Regions from separate parts of the Homo sapiens genome. Here region 2 is linked to region 1. Evidence: promoter capture Hi-C in 16 types of primary human blood cells and fetal thymus (Javierre and others, 2016). All regions are on one chromosome and are shown on one strand. Each heading gives the region's core, a stretch centred on a gene start or on the middle of the fragment in contact. The rest is flanking DNA. Distances are from core to core; before and after follow the strand shown.

Region 1 (7,302 bases), core at 2,193-4,692:
ACCTCCTCTTCAGGTCCTGCATGTTGGGTGACTTGGGCCTGGGAATGAGGGAGGTTCTTCGCTTCTCGGGTGTACTGCTAGGCTGCTGTTTGTGACTGACCTCTTTACAGAGGACGTGGAAGGCGCTGTAGACATCATTATAATTTTCACTGACAGACACTTCATAGAATGAGCAGCCTAGCATGCTGGCTAGCTGCAGTCCAAGCTGAGGGTCAACCTGTTTGATGTGCAACAGGTCAGCTTTGTTGGCCACGACCACCACAGGCAGCCGGGTGCCCAGGTGTAGCTGCTGCACGTGCTGGTGGAGCTGGCTGATGAGTTCATAGCTCTTGTAGTCAGTGATGGAGAAAACGATCACCACAGCATCTGCCCAGCGAATGCACCTATTCAGCTGTTCACTGCAGCTCAGGCTGTTCTCATGGACCTGAAAGAGAGGAGTGATGGCAAGGTGAATGCTGGCCAGTTGTACAAAGAGCCTGGGCTTGGGTAGATTTCAAATTCAAAAGAGCCCTTCATAGTAGTGCCAGGTTGAGGGCCATAAACAACTTATATCCCACACACTTCAGCTTTCTTGACAATATGTTGATCCAGCTGCACAGAGTGGGAATAAATAACAGTGCAGCTTACCACACTCAAGTGGAAAATTGACCTGCAGAGAACTCCATGCAGAGCGACTTTGTAGTTGCACAAAATGGGAAATTAACTGGCTAGACAGTAAGTCTGGGGAAGTAAAGATAGGAGCTGGAAGCATTTAAACCTGGATAACTGCCCAGTTCAGGAGGCGGGGGGAAAAACCCTAGCATGGCGCTTTTGTCTATAGAGCAACTTTCCAGTACAAAAGCGATTCCAAGTATTTGCAGACTATACCCAGAAGCTTGGTTTTTCATGCCAAAGACACACATATTAAAACTGGACTTTTAAACCACAGCAAGGAAAACACCAATTCCAACTGCATTCGGTTTGGGCTTTCCGGCTGTGTTGAATCCTTCTAAAGGAAGATTTCTGCCCCCTAGCCAAATCTCCCAAACTAAACCATGCTAAGATCGACCAACAGCCAGATACAATTGAATTGTCAGACATGTAAAAGTCTAGATGTGACTCCCCAAATTTCTCTGATCCTGCAGCATGAGGAACTTTGAGAAGAAGTGAGTGATTCCACAGCCAAGTAGGTTCCCCTTTCACCCAGAGTCTCAGAGCTTCTCACCTGAATACCTGGAGTGTCTTGAACCTGAAGAGCCAGGGTTTCACCTTCTATCTGAACTTGTCTAGTATAGAGATTACCTATGAAGGCAAATAAAAGAGATTATGTTCTTCCTTCTTGTACAACTTTTAAAACATTGTGAGTTTTAAGCTAGAAAAAAAATGCACAATGCATAAATGCACACAAAACAGCGATAGTTTATTTCTATTTGGTGGGCTTACTTCAGATTTTTTTTAAAAAACAACAGCAATTTTAACCCTATGTTAGATTTATTAAAACCAGGGCAAAGTTTGCAAGTTTTTGAAAACTTATTTATCTAGTTTTAAACAAAGTTTCCATTTTTAGAGTACTCCCTTGATGCAAATTATCTTGCTCAGCCTATGTGAGGTTTCTGTTTTCTTGAGTACTTGATTCATTCTTTGACTGTAACTTTGTATTTTGGCCGTTAGATATAATGGCTTGCTAGACAAATACTGTTAGTAAACACACAGCCAATGTTATCAGTTGGAATAAAAATGTGATATAATTATAATCAACTCTACATCAAATCAGAAGGCTGCCATGTCTTATCTTGGGATAGCTTATACAGCTCATTTCAAATAATCCCCTATAGGTACTCATATGGTCTACAGAGTTAAGCAATTTGCTAACAGAGCATAGGCAGAAAGCTCTTAAGCCTCCCCAGTGGCTATTCTTAATCATAAGGATTGAAAAATGTGTCCTCTCATTTATTCGGGAATTCTCCTCCTAAAATTCTACCATCCAGTTGTTTGTCTTTGTTAAGAAGGAGGAACTTTAGGTTTACAACTGCTCTCCTTTGGCCTTTGCTTTAAAAGGTCACCTCTGAAAGGCAGCCAGCAGAGAAGGAGAGGGGTGGGGGAAGGAGCTAGGGACTCCTTTTTTTTTTTTTTACGACTTTTGCAGGAGTGTTTTGAAGGGAGAGGTTCTTGACTACAAAGGGTGCTTCCAACTGGGGTCACTATAGTTAAAACATACCAAGGGGAATACTTTCAGGCACTTGATAAAATGATGAATGGGCTTGGAATGGAATGAGGCCAGATGGTAGTTATGGGAGGGGGGCGCCATGGAGGGCTGGGGACTGGGGAAAGTTTTAAGTGGCGGGATCCTCAGGCTCGGACTGTCACTGAAAGAACCTCCCTGGGAAGCGCTGGAAAATGGGAACCGCAGTCCTCCTGCAATGGGACAGAATTTTTCTCAAATGCATTGTCTCACCTGCATTTCTTTCATAGTCACCGATGAATCGTTTGGTGAGGAACCGGACCACCAGTGCTGCACGTCAGAAAAAAGAACGTCAAAGTGTTAACCTTGGAAGTTAGATTGTTCTCCACCCCACCCCCTGCCTGGAAAACAGTTCTCCCAAAGAAAGCCATAGATGGCCACCAAGTGAAATTCCTACCCTGTAGCTCCTTGACCCTTCTTTCCAGACAAAAAGGAGGGGGCTAGAAGGCATCGTGAATTATGGCTCTGTGCAGCTGGAAGGCTCACTGGGCCCACCCCCTCCTCTGAGCCCGGCTGAGCCACACCTAAGCCTTCCAGTAGACCCATGTCTTCCTAACCTTCAAGACCTCCCAGGGGGGCTAGCTTCACTAACTCCCCTTTCTGTGCCAGGCATTGCCAGAGGCTCAAACACCCCAAAGTTCTGATGGCGGCGGTGCCGGTGGTCCCCAGAAAGCTGCCTGGCCATTCTTGATCCTTGTTTCCCCCGTCTGTGGAAGCAGGCGGGTGGCGTAGACAACGGCTAAGCCCACTCCCAAGGGGCAGCGGCTCCCTGCGCGGGGACGGAGAGCGGTCGGGCTGCAGCTCCCACCGCTCCCCACGCCTTGTTCAGCCTCAACTCCCGTCAGGGGTCGTCCAAGACCAGACCCAGGGCTAAGCGCGACGACTCACCGGTCTTGCCCACGCCGCTGGCGCCCACCACGGCGATCTTGACCAGGCGGCGGCCGGCGGCGCCCACACAGCAGTCGGAGGCCGCGGCGTTGCCCGGCGCGGGGTACTCGGCGATGGTGCACATGTTCTGAATGAGGCGCATCGCCTCGGCTGCGGCGCACCGCGCGGGAAGGGACTGAGGGACTGGAGAATGCTAGCGCTGCGCGGGAGCGGGCGGGAGGACCCGACTGCGGGGCTCCGCGGTAAGAAATAACAACAATAAATAAGTGCAGGTACGGGCGGGGTGGGGCCGAGCGCCGAGGTTCCGCAGGGCTCAGGCTCCAGACCCAGACTGCACTCGCGCGGCGCGCCGGCTGTTTTCTCCGCGGCCGGCCCCGCCCCCTCTCCCCACAGCCAATCCCGGGGCGCCCTACACGAGGCCCCGCCCCCGGCGCCGCTCCGCGCGCGCGACGCCCCCGGAGGCGCCTGGAGTCAGTGCGGAGCCCCGTGAGGCGCGGGGAGAAGAGGCAGCGGGCGGAGGGGAGCAGCGGGTGGTCCGAGGCGGCGCAGCCCAGGGTGGGCGCCTGGTAGGTCCTGCCGCGCGAGCATGGGGCAGCTGCTGTGGCTGCGGGGCCAGGAAGAGAGCGCAGCCTCCACAGAGCCATTCCGGACCGCTGCCTCCGCCGGCTCCACAGCCCACGCGCGCACTCGCTGCAGCCCCAACCTAGGGCGTCTGCTCTGGGCGGGCCGGGAGCGGTGTTTGCTCCCCGGCTTAGTGCCGCCCGCCCTGATTTGGAGCGATTGCACTGGCTTGGGTACATCCCAGCTCATAGATTCAGCTACAGTTGGCAATCATCCGCAAAGACTCCAGCCTAAGACCTTTAGACCCCCGTAAAATGTGACATTTGAAGCAAAAATATCATCCACGTTTTATCCTAGACCCACGTTCTCTGGCTCTTGTCGACGGCGCAAGCTAACGCAAACACACATGGTCGGACGCATGCACAGCACGCCTAGAAGCGGATCAAGAAGTAATTATAGAACAAGCTTTCCAGCGCCTCACTCAGTCACACCTCCTTCAAGAGCTGTGAAATGGAAAGAAAACAGTTACTCCAGCTGCGACGTCTGAAGGGGCCCCGCACTTCGTCCCTGGTCATAAGACACCGCAAGAGTTTAGTTAAGTGGCTTGATACCAAGGAAGAGGTGGGCCCTGCACTCCTAAAATCCCAAGCTCCGGCCCCTTACAGTCTCATCTGAGAAACACATCTTCAACGGCAGGCCAAATTCCTCCTGCGAGCAACATTCTGTAGCTGCAGCTGATGGCAAGATGTCACCAGCGGCTGATGGCAAAATGTCACCAGAGTCGCGGGTTAACCACCCCATCCGCTATCCAAGGCCCTCTCCCCGCTACCCTTTCAACCTTGTCCCAGAGGCTTTTATGTTGGGGTATGGCAACAAACTCTGTGGCTTTGTGTACCCACCCACATTAAAGGCTAAAATGTGAAATAAACCAGTGCCCTTATCCGCACATGTCAGTCATCTAATTTGACCCCCTCTTCCAGCCAGAACTTAATTGACCAGGTATTTGACAGAATTTTATGATCCTCAGCCAGTTCAGACTCTGAGATGAACCTCTTGTCTACAGAGGTTTAGGTGTTTGCAGGAATGCAAGGAGAAATAGAAAGGTAATCTCAAGGTAGCAAGTTTTCTAGGATGGGCCACGTAATTAGAAAGACACACAACCTTACAATAAACATAATAAAAGGCTGACTTCTAGGGAGATCACTAGAACGAAACAGCCATTTGAGTCAGAAAGAAAAAGCATTTCCAATATGCACCATGTCTTTCTGCATGGTTTAAATCAGACTTGAATGTCACTTCTATAAAATCAAACTTTGCAAGACTGTAATTACAGGTAACCATGTACTTTTAAAATCTTTCCCCTCCAAAAAGCCTGCTATTCTATCATGCTTACATGGTAAAATAATGATGTAGGCTAAAGTACTAGTTTAACATACACACACACACACACACACACACACACACACAGAGACATGACAAAAGCTGTCAAGGGGAATTTTGCTTTGAATCATTTAGTTTCTTGGGCTTGATTTTCATTACCATAAGCCCATACAAAACCCGTGATTTTTCTGTCTGCAACGCAAAGGCTTGATTTGGTGTTCTTATTTTAGATCTAAATGATCTGGCTATGCTTTAAAGAACACAGAAAAGAGAGAAGCAAGAGAAAGATGTAAAAAAGAAAAGAGAGCTATTCAAATTCCAAATACCTAGCATATAGCCCATCTCCACTCCACCTACCTCTCCTTCTGGGACATTCATAGAGTTAAAAAGAGGAAGGAGGCAAGGCAGGAGAAGTGACGATACATAATGAGCGCTTGTTTCATTCTAGGTTGTACACAGGGGTTTTGCATTTAAAAATCTCATTTTACCTTCATAACAGTCCTATGAGGTAGGTATTACCATTACTTCTAGTTGCCGTTATCTATTGCTGCTTAGTAAACCACCCCAAACTTTAGTGGCTCGCAGTTCTGTGTGTTGACTAGGCTTAGCTGGGGAGTGCTTACCTAGGGTCTCTCATGTTGTTGCAGTCAGATGGCAGCTGGGGCTGCTATCATCTGAAGGCTCAACTAGGCTGGACATCCAAGATGGTATCTTCGTTCATATGTCTGTGTGTCAGCTGGAATGGGCAGAACAGCTGGGACTAGCTCAGGCTCTCTCACAACATGGTGACGGGCTTCCCTTTGAGTGAGCATTCTAAGAAACCAAGTAGAAGCTGCTAGTCTCTTAAGACCTACACTTGGAAATTGGCACCGCATCACTTCTGCTCTGTTCTATTGGTCAAGTGTCACAGAGCCCACCCAGATTAAAGATCAAGGGGCAGGAACATCGATCCTATCTTTAAGTGGGAATGGTGTCAAAGAATGTGTGGCCATCTGTAATTCACTACGCTTCCATTTTACAAGTGAGAAAGCAAAGTCTCGGGTTAAAAAACTCTTCCAAAGTTACATATCCTGCAAGGGACAGAGCCTTTTCTTTTTTTTTTTTTTTTTTTTTTTTTTTGTCAAGCTAAAAGAGATGAGGATGGGGAATTGAAACATGAGGAGGGGTTTGGGAAGAAAAGAAAGAAGTATTTTGCCAAGGTTCAATTTTACCTCAGCATCTGGAGTTTCTAGCACTTCCTTTGATCTTAAGAGGTTTAGCCCAGACAATTCAGTCCCTGGAAGCCCTTAGAATGCCAGAATATGAATTCAATAAATATTTATTGGATGTCTGGGCTATGTGTATACCAGACATTATGCTAGGTATTGAGTCTACAGTGGCAAATAAGAAATGCAACCTTTGCCATCCCTGCAGCTACATTTAGCATGAGAGACTGAAGTGAATGAGCAATTTCAATACAGTGTGAGAAAACACTTTGATAGGGAAAATTCAGGAATTACAGAAGCACAAACTAGGACTAAAAACCTGGGTTGTGGCAGTCAAGGAGGGGGTGGTGAAGGAGTTGAGAAGTTTGTGTGTTGTGTACAGTGTGCATGTATGTGTGTGCATGTACATGGGAGTATGGAGCAGGGAGTTAGGAGGGGGCAAGATGGGTTAGTTCGCAAGAGAATAGCACTTGCCAATAGGTGCTCAGTAAATAGTTGTGGATTATAAATGAAAGCATAAGTGAATATAGCAAAGGCCTCACATTGAGAAAATGAATTAAAGGAACGGAGGATAGTTCCTGATGGGTGAACAGAGAGAAAAGCCCTGGTGATTTCTGTGGAGGAGCCCTCATATTGATAAGAAAAGCTCCAGAAGTTGCCTTGGTGCTCCCTTCTTCCATGGGAACATGCCCGCATGGAAGCCAAATGAGCTGCTCCTCTGCCCACATCACCAGGAGTTGCTCCCAAATCAGCCCTCTCTGAACATCCAGGCCTTGAGCAAGAACCAGACTTTATTTTTTCTTGAGACTTTTGTCAACTCTGCTTGTTTAGATCCAGTAAACAGACACTCTTTAGTGGTTTTAAGCAGAAGACGATTTAATACAGGAAATTACCTGCTTTCAATGTCTTTGGAAGGGCTGGAGTAGCAGGCTCTAGGCTGGACCTGCAGAAATGGCTCCCAGAGCAGCACTGCAGAACTGGCCCACGCAGGAAGCTGCTGCCTCTTCCATAATCAGGGGAACACAGTGGCTGCCTCTGTTATTCTCT
Region 2 (7,302 bases), core at 4,803-7,302, 1.4 Mb before region 1:
CATAAGACAGCCAACTTGTAATTCTGCCAAGTAAGGGCATTAAAAAAAATCAATCACCATATTTTCATTAAAAAAGAAAAAGACAGCAATAAAAAAGGAAGTTCATTATATCAGAATAAATAATTATTTTTTTTAAAAAATGTTTACTGCAGGAACACACCAAGAAAATTCTTTAAAACTATTAAATTTAAAGTTTAAAAAATTTGTTACATTGTCAGCTTTTATTCTTTTCAATTTACAGGCCACAAACCTGGAAACATGTCACAGAACTGGTTGTGCAGACCTGCATTTAGAGACCACGTGGGCTGCCAGGTTCACTTACCATCCCTATACACTTCCCTCTAAATACTTTAAGTATCATATTAAACCACTGGAAAGTCCCAACACCCAGAGTGAGTATAGACACTTTTACCTAACATAGATTTCTTCTTATATGAGGCTGGACGATCATAGAGTGATCTCTGGATGTCGGAATATTTAGAAACCTCTTTCCTTTCTAGCATGGGGACATACTGTGTAGTATCAGCCTGCTTCATGTCCATGTAGTCACCATTGTTTTCAAAAGATAAAATAACATAGCTGTAAAAACAGAAAGAGAAATCTTACCCAGGGTGCCCTTCTGAAGTGGTCATTCCACTTTCAGTAGATGATGATTATGTGCCAGGTACTGAGGTAGGCATGGGAGCTAACTGGGTAAAAGCAAAACCAATCCATACCTTTCACATGAGGTGATCTAGTCAAGGAAATGAGCATTAATCAAATAGTCGCACAAATACATGCATCACAGCAATTCCACTACTGGGTATCTACCAGAGGAAAGGAAGTCATACTAAAAAGATACTTGCACACACATGTTTATAGCAGCACAATTCACATATTGAAAAAATGTGGAACCAACCCCAAATGCCCATCAATCAAGGAGTGGATAAAGAAACTGCAGTGTATCTATACATATGTATGTGTAGGTGTGCATATATATATATATATATGTAACTCAGCTATAAAAAGGAATGAATTAATGGCTTTTGCAGCAACCTGGATGGGATTAGAGACTATTATTCTAAGTGAAGTAACTCAGAAATGGAAACCAAACATCGTACGTTCTCACTCATAAGTGAGAGCTAAGCTATGAGGATGCAAAGGCATAAGAATGACACAATGGACTTGGGGACTCGGGGAAAAATTGAGAGGCAGGTGAGGGATAAAAGACTACAAACTGGGTTCAGTGTATACTGCTCCAGTGATGGGTGCACCAAAATCTCACAAATCACCACTGAAGAATTTACTCATGTAACCAAATACCACTTGTTCCCCAAAAACCTATGGAAATAAAAAAATTTTTTAAATAGGGAAAAAAAGAAATGTAAAAAACAAAATAAATACACAGATCAACTCAAACTCAGCTGTGTTGTGAAGGAAGAAAGGTTTCAATAGCTTGTAAGGAAAATGACTTGATCTGGGGGTCAAGGAAGCACTTTTCAGAAGACGTAGAATGGATCCCACTGACAAAGATGGGAAAGACTAGCGGAATATTTGTCATGGCACCTGGCACATACAAAGGACTCCACAAATGTCAGCTGCCATGATGACTACTGTTCACTTGTTTTCAGAGCCAGTTCCCTGCACATCCTTAGCAGGAGCCCGCACATCCTGAAGAGCCACATCTAAGACAGTGGGGCTGTGCTCCCATGGACCTGTAAGTCCATTACACTTAAAGTTTGAAGAATTCACTACGTTAAGTCTGTCATTATTCTTTCTCAGTTTTTCAACTCACAAGCCTTGGTTGGAACTTGAGCCGTGTGGCCATGTGGCTTGGGCATACAATTCCTTCTACCCAATCAATTTAGCACCCATTTGGTGTCCACCAAGTAATTTATTATGAAGTGAATTCATTGTACTTTCTGATCTTACAGAATTTCTTACCTACAGAGTTCTTTATAGCCACTTGTAGATTTCTGCAGTAGGGATCACTATCATTGACGTCATTTATAGGTCCAGGTTCAGCAAGGACCTCGAGCTTGGAGATCCACAGACAGTTCTTGCAAGGTTCCAGAACTCAAGCATCCCTGGCCAGAGCTGCATTTTATAGGTCTAAGTGGATCACATGTAAATAGCAGAAGAGCTCCCAGAGTCATTCTAACTCACTCTCATTCAAACCTATCAGCAAGGCCTTCCCATGTGACACCCCAGTCCAAAACACCTTTAGACATCATGCATCTCTCTGCATGACCATGGAAAGACTGGACAGGGTGGTTTGACTCTAAGTCTTGCTACCTTGGGCACTGAATCTGCAGACATGATATCTATCAGGACATGGGTCTTTCCATTTGTGATGCCTGTAAGATAATGATAGACAGCAACATCTCTCTTTGCACCCACCTCCGTGTGCTTTCATCAGCAGGGTTCAATCCAAAGATATCCAGCTCTTTCTTTGGCTTCTCTGGGTGGTGGCTCAGGAAGCTATCCCTATTCTTATGCAAATAGTTGACCAAATCTCCATAGAAGCAATACTCTGTGATGATGTAAATGGGGCCTATGGGGACAAAAGCCGTTAGGAGATGGGTATGAAAATGAAGAACAGAAAAGCCATGAATTGTCCTGCAGACCATATGGCACAGAAAAAAATAAGATACCAAAAAAGTTTTTTTTTTTTTTTTTTTTTTTTTTTTTTAATAAAGAGCCATGAATGGCTATGACTGGACTGGCAACAGATTTTGCTCAAAAACCAATGAGCTTCCATCAATTCAAGGGACCAGTCAGCTCCATTCAAGGGACTTCTATTCCCTGCCATGTGTGGGGATGGAGAGTGGAGGATTTAAGCCTGATTGAACAGTTTTCACAACCACATGTGTCCAGTGAAAATCCTCACTCCAGGTCAGTGAGCCCACCTGACTTGGTGCAGGCTCCCAGCAAGTTTACAATGTTCAAATGTGGCCCCAGGTGAGTCATTATCTTCAGTTCAGACATGAGAGCTTGTTTTTCACTGGATCTGGCCGTGGCTGTTGAAAGAATAAATCACATATCAGTCCAGCTGAGCTACCAACTTCCTGTTCTCAGAAAAAAACCAAGAATATGACTAATCCTGTGATTGGATATCATTCTATTTACCAGAAGTCTAAAAGAAGCAGATAGCTACTTGGCCTCAGTGCTAATAACTAATTCCTGGTCTTTCTAGTAAAAAGAAGTCACTGGAAATAACAAGCTCTTAATTTTCCAACATACAGGCAGCAAGAGCAATCTAAATAAACCTAATCTAAATACACATAAAACCTGGAGTCAAAATAATCAGGACCTAGTCCTAAATGTCTTATTTACTAGCTGCATGATTTTGAGAAATTCCCTTAATATCCCCATGCTCAAAAAATCCCCGTGCTCAAAAAATCCCCAGGAAGGAGCACTTACGTTTTAGCATCTTCACTGCAACTTTCATGACAGGTTGGGACCGGCTTAATCCATAGGCTGTTCCTTCAACCACCTTCCCAAACGCTCCAGACCCCAAGACCCGACCTGTGGGCAGGCAGAATCATTAACACCCAAAAACTCCAGACGCCTCCTCAGCTTTCTGCACCGTAGCCAGCTCTCTGCGGGCGGACAGCTGGGCGAGTGTCTTTCCTGTTTGGAGTAATCATAATGACTCCTCCAAGTCATCGTGTCAAAAAAGGAATTGAGCCCACAGGGAAGGAAATTAGCATAATTGCTTTTGTCGAATAACACTTGCAAGGGAAAGAAAACACAGACGGGAGAAAGGAGGGTGCAGCCCTCCCTGGTGTGAGCGCGCTGTCTACCAGCTCCGTGCTGGGCCAGCCCCTGGGATCCTCTTGCCTTCGGGGCTCTCACCCACACCTCCTGGCTCTCTCCCCTTCTGTTTTCCATATGCAAACAGGGGCATCTTTTGTCTTAGTAAATTACTAGCCACTGGAAATACTTCAGTATTCAAAATATCACTGATTCTAAGGAGTGACTAAATAAAAACTTCAGGCTGGGCTCACTGCTCCCTATTTGTTAGGAAAGCCACTCTACCAAGAGCTAAACATGCCCGAGAGCACAGCAATTAGCTTCATGTTGGGAGGAGACATACGTAAAGACACTGAAGCTGTTGTCCCACCCTGAAAGAGCTCACCCTGAGAGAAACATTTCCCGGGGTGTCAGTCTCACCACGGATAGCCAAGCCAGGAAAAGACTTGGCTCATAAAAGACACTAACAGCCAACACTGCCTCTTACTGCACGTCTGTGTTACTGAAAATCGTACCTGGAAAGGTATTGCTTCACCAGCAATGCCTCTTGGTATAATGGGAATTATGCCCTTTTCCCCATATTTTACTACTTTTTAACTCCCTAAGCTCCTCATCCCTTGTTGGGAAATAGGCAGGAAAATAAAGAAAGCTTAGATATAAATATTTGAAATTGGGGGGCAGCTCTTATAACCGCCCCATGGATTCTCCTTGTCCGCTGCCTAGACAGAGCCGATTTACCAAGACAGGGGAATTGCAATAGAAAAAGGGTTTAATTCACACAGAGCCAGCTGTACGGGAGACCTATTCTACTATTACTACTATTACTCGAATCAGTGTCTCTGAAACTGGGGGAATTTCTACTATTCTGCTATTACTCAAATCAGTGTCTCTGAAACTGGGGGAATGGGGTTTTTAAGGATGATTTGGTGGGTAGGGGGTGAAAAGGGGAGTGCTGATTGGTTGGGTCAAAGATGAAATTATAGGGAGCTGATGCTGTCCTCTTGCACTGAGTCAGTTCCTAGGTAGGGGCCCCAAGATCAGATGAGCCAGTTTATTGACCTGGGTGGTGTCAGCTGGTGCATCGAAATACAGGGTCTCCAAAATATCTCAAGCACTGACCTCAGGTTTTACAACAGTGACCCCTAAACCATACTTTCTAATCTTGTAGCTAATTCGTTAGTCCCGCAAAGGCAGTCTAGTTCCCAGGGAAAAAGAGGGTTTGTTTTGGCAAAGGGCTATTATTGTCTTTTTTTCAAAGTCAAACTATAAACTAAGTTCCTCTCAAAGTTAGTTCGGCCTATGCCCAGGAAGGAACAAGGACAACTTGGAGGCTAAAGCAAAATGGAGTTGGTTAGGTCATATCTCATTCACTGTCATAATTTCCTCAGTTACAATTTTTGCAAAGGTGATTTCACTCTGGTGCCTTGCTTGATTTCAGTTTACCTAACTCTCTAAGAAGACTTAAACTCTTCTGTATTTTGCAATGAGACCGGTGGATAATTAAAACCTGCATTTGGCATTCTTTAACATATATACTGTTAGATCATTCATCATAACACAACCTCTACCTCTACTTTCATTTGCCTTTGTCTTGCTTTCATTCATTAGGAATGTGATTTAAAAAAGAAATACTCCCTTGGACTAAAGCTTCATATACTTGGTCTCAGCCCAGGATTGAAATACTTGAAATGCTTGTGATAAGTTGGCTTGCTTATTTTTACATATTTTGCCTCAAAATGTACCTATATTTTTATATTCCATATTCCAAATATGTAAAAAGGAGTATCTAATGCATCTTCAGAATGTACTGAATCAAAATACATTTTGTGGTTGTCCTCATTCATTTCTCATCTGCTCATTTTTAGTCACAGAAATTCATTTTCAATTTGTGTCATTTCTAAAGAAAAGCAATTTTGGTGGGTATCTTTGCCAGCCCTCTTCATATTCTCTTCTCCCTTTGTAAAATTTTCCTTAACTATAATTTGTTATGGAAAGAGATTTAAAAAAATCATTGCAATGATCCAATTAACTTACTGTCAAGACAGAAATGTATTTCTGAAAGCAAATTTCCATTGCCTAGTTCTTACTAAGCACAAGCTCAGATCTCTATTCTGCCAAGGCCTATAAATTGTAAAGTTGTGTGCAAGGGAAAAGGGAGTCTTGGGAGGTTACCCCATGGAACTTACCAAGCACTAGTCCATCTCTTGGAAACTCCCATCTTGAGTCATAAGGCAGCTGCATCGGGTCCACATAAATATATTCATGTCCATCTGGGCTGATTGATTCAATGACCCTCCAGCGAATTTCATACCTCGGTTTCTATAAATGACCAGGACAGGTAACTGGTGAATTACCAAAGTCCCAGTGCACCAGAGCTTCACTGAAGCAGCACAGTGACTGGACACAGTAGAGTCCAACAACGTTCACTCCACATGTAATTGCTGAGCTCCTTCTCTGTGCCAAGCACTGAACTAGGTTGCTATGCTTGTTCTCATTGGCTTCAAAGATCTTTAGTTTTATGAGAAAATATCTACCTGTTTCCAAATGACAACCAGGACAATAAGTGAGATGATCACAATCACCAACAGCACCAGGACTGCAGCAGCCACCGTGAGTTCAGAACGCAGGGCTACGTGACAAGAGAGAGAGGCACAATGAAAAGTTTCCTGGCAGACATGCACAGGGGCAGCAAGGTAGTGTGGCTGTGTCTGAGCCAGGAATCTCTCACTGCTGGTGGGGAAGTGTGAGGGCTGCCTGGTTCATTTTAGGGATAGGCAGTACCATCTCTCAAACCATCTACACCCAGGAAACTACATCAACTCTTTCCTTATACAAGAAGGGGACAAAATTCAATCAGGAGAACTCAGTATTTTCTCCAAAGTTGCTCCAACAGTAACCTTGTGGACAGAATTTGAATAGGATAAATGCAATTGACAGCTACTATATGGGCAGACACCTCTACTTCATATGCTTTATTATAAAGCTTATTTTGTAAGTTGCATTTTGCTTATATTGCTTTTGGCTTCATCTATCTTTTAAGGAGCAATGAGACAGAAGATCCTTCCCCACACTCCATCCACATACACAGACATTCAAAGTAGAGACTGTAGCTATATTATTAGACAAGCAAAATGTTGAGGGGCCTCTGCAAAAATGCAGTTTTGGATCTGAATCTAAAACAACGTCCTAGGTAGAGGTTGCAGTGAGCCAATATTGTGCCATTGCACTCCAGCCTGGGCCACAGAGCAAAACTCTGTCTCAAAAAACAAAACAAAATAAAACAAAGTCCCACATGACTTTAAGAGCATTCATAACTGAATTTCTGCCTTGGGACCTTCATTTCTATATAACCCCTATCTGGGATTCAAAGTTCCGCCTGGGGCAGATGCGGCTCAGCTGATGAGTTGTCCTGACTGTTGAGGAACTCACTGGGAGCCACCAGCTTCAGCTCTCGGTTCTCAGCTCCAAGGAGATTCTTAGCCAGGCATCGCACGGCGATGGTCTCCTCCACTTTGGCGAAAGTCACACGGCCCTCCACGGTACTCCTGTCTCGGGAGTGGATCTCCG

The links. Contacts are between HindIII fragments. The CHiCAGO score rates a contact against its expected background, and 5 or more counts as called.
Region 2: a contact is called between a fragment that was not itself captured here and the fragment with the promoter of RASL11B in region 1, in 1 of 17 cell types (M1 macrophages). The highest score is 6.1, in M1 macrophages.

What each region holds. Positions count from the first base shown.
Region 1 is chr4:52,858,457-52,865,758 of GRCh38, reverse strand. RASL11B (RAS like family 11 member B) reads right to left here and starts at 3,442. Exons shown (of 4, transcript NM_023940.3): 1 at 3,110-3,442; 2 at 2,435-2,491; 3 at 1,205-1,281; 4 at 1-424. The coding sequence starts at 3,251. LOC124900700 (a long non-coding RNA gene) reads left to right here and starts at 3,554. Exons shown (of 2, transcript XR_007058115.1): 1 at 3,554-3,675; 2 at 4,028-4,610. RefSeq lists silencers at 3,123-3,417, 3,389-3,878. The HindIII fragment of the contact is 3,261 bases long and covers 877-4,137 here.
Region 2 is chr4:54,273,593-54,280,894 of GRCh38, reverse strand. It overlaps PDGFRA (platelet derived growth factor receptor alpha), which reads right to left. Exons shown (of 23, transcript NM_006206.6): 10 at 7,165-7,302; 11 at 6,270-6,364; 12 at 5,922-6,054; 13 at 3,403-3,507; 14 at 2,889-2,999; 15 at 2,380-2,533; 16 at 413-579. Among named protein-coding and RNA genes, the nearest start is that of PDGFRA, 48 kb to the right of the region's middle. RefSeq lists an enhancer at 2,216-2,739. The HindIII fragment of the contact is 1,336 bases long and covers 5,385-6,720 here.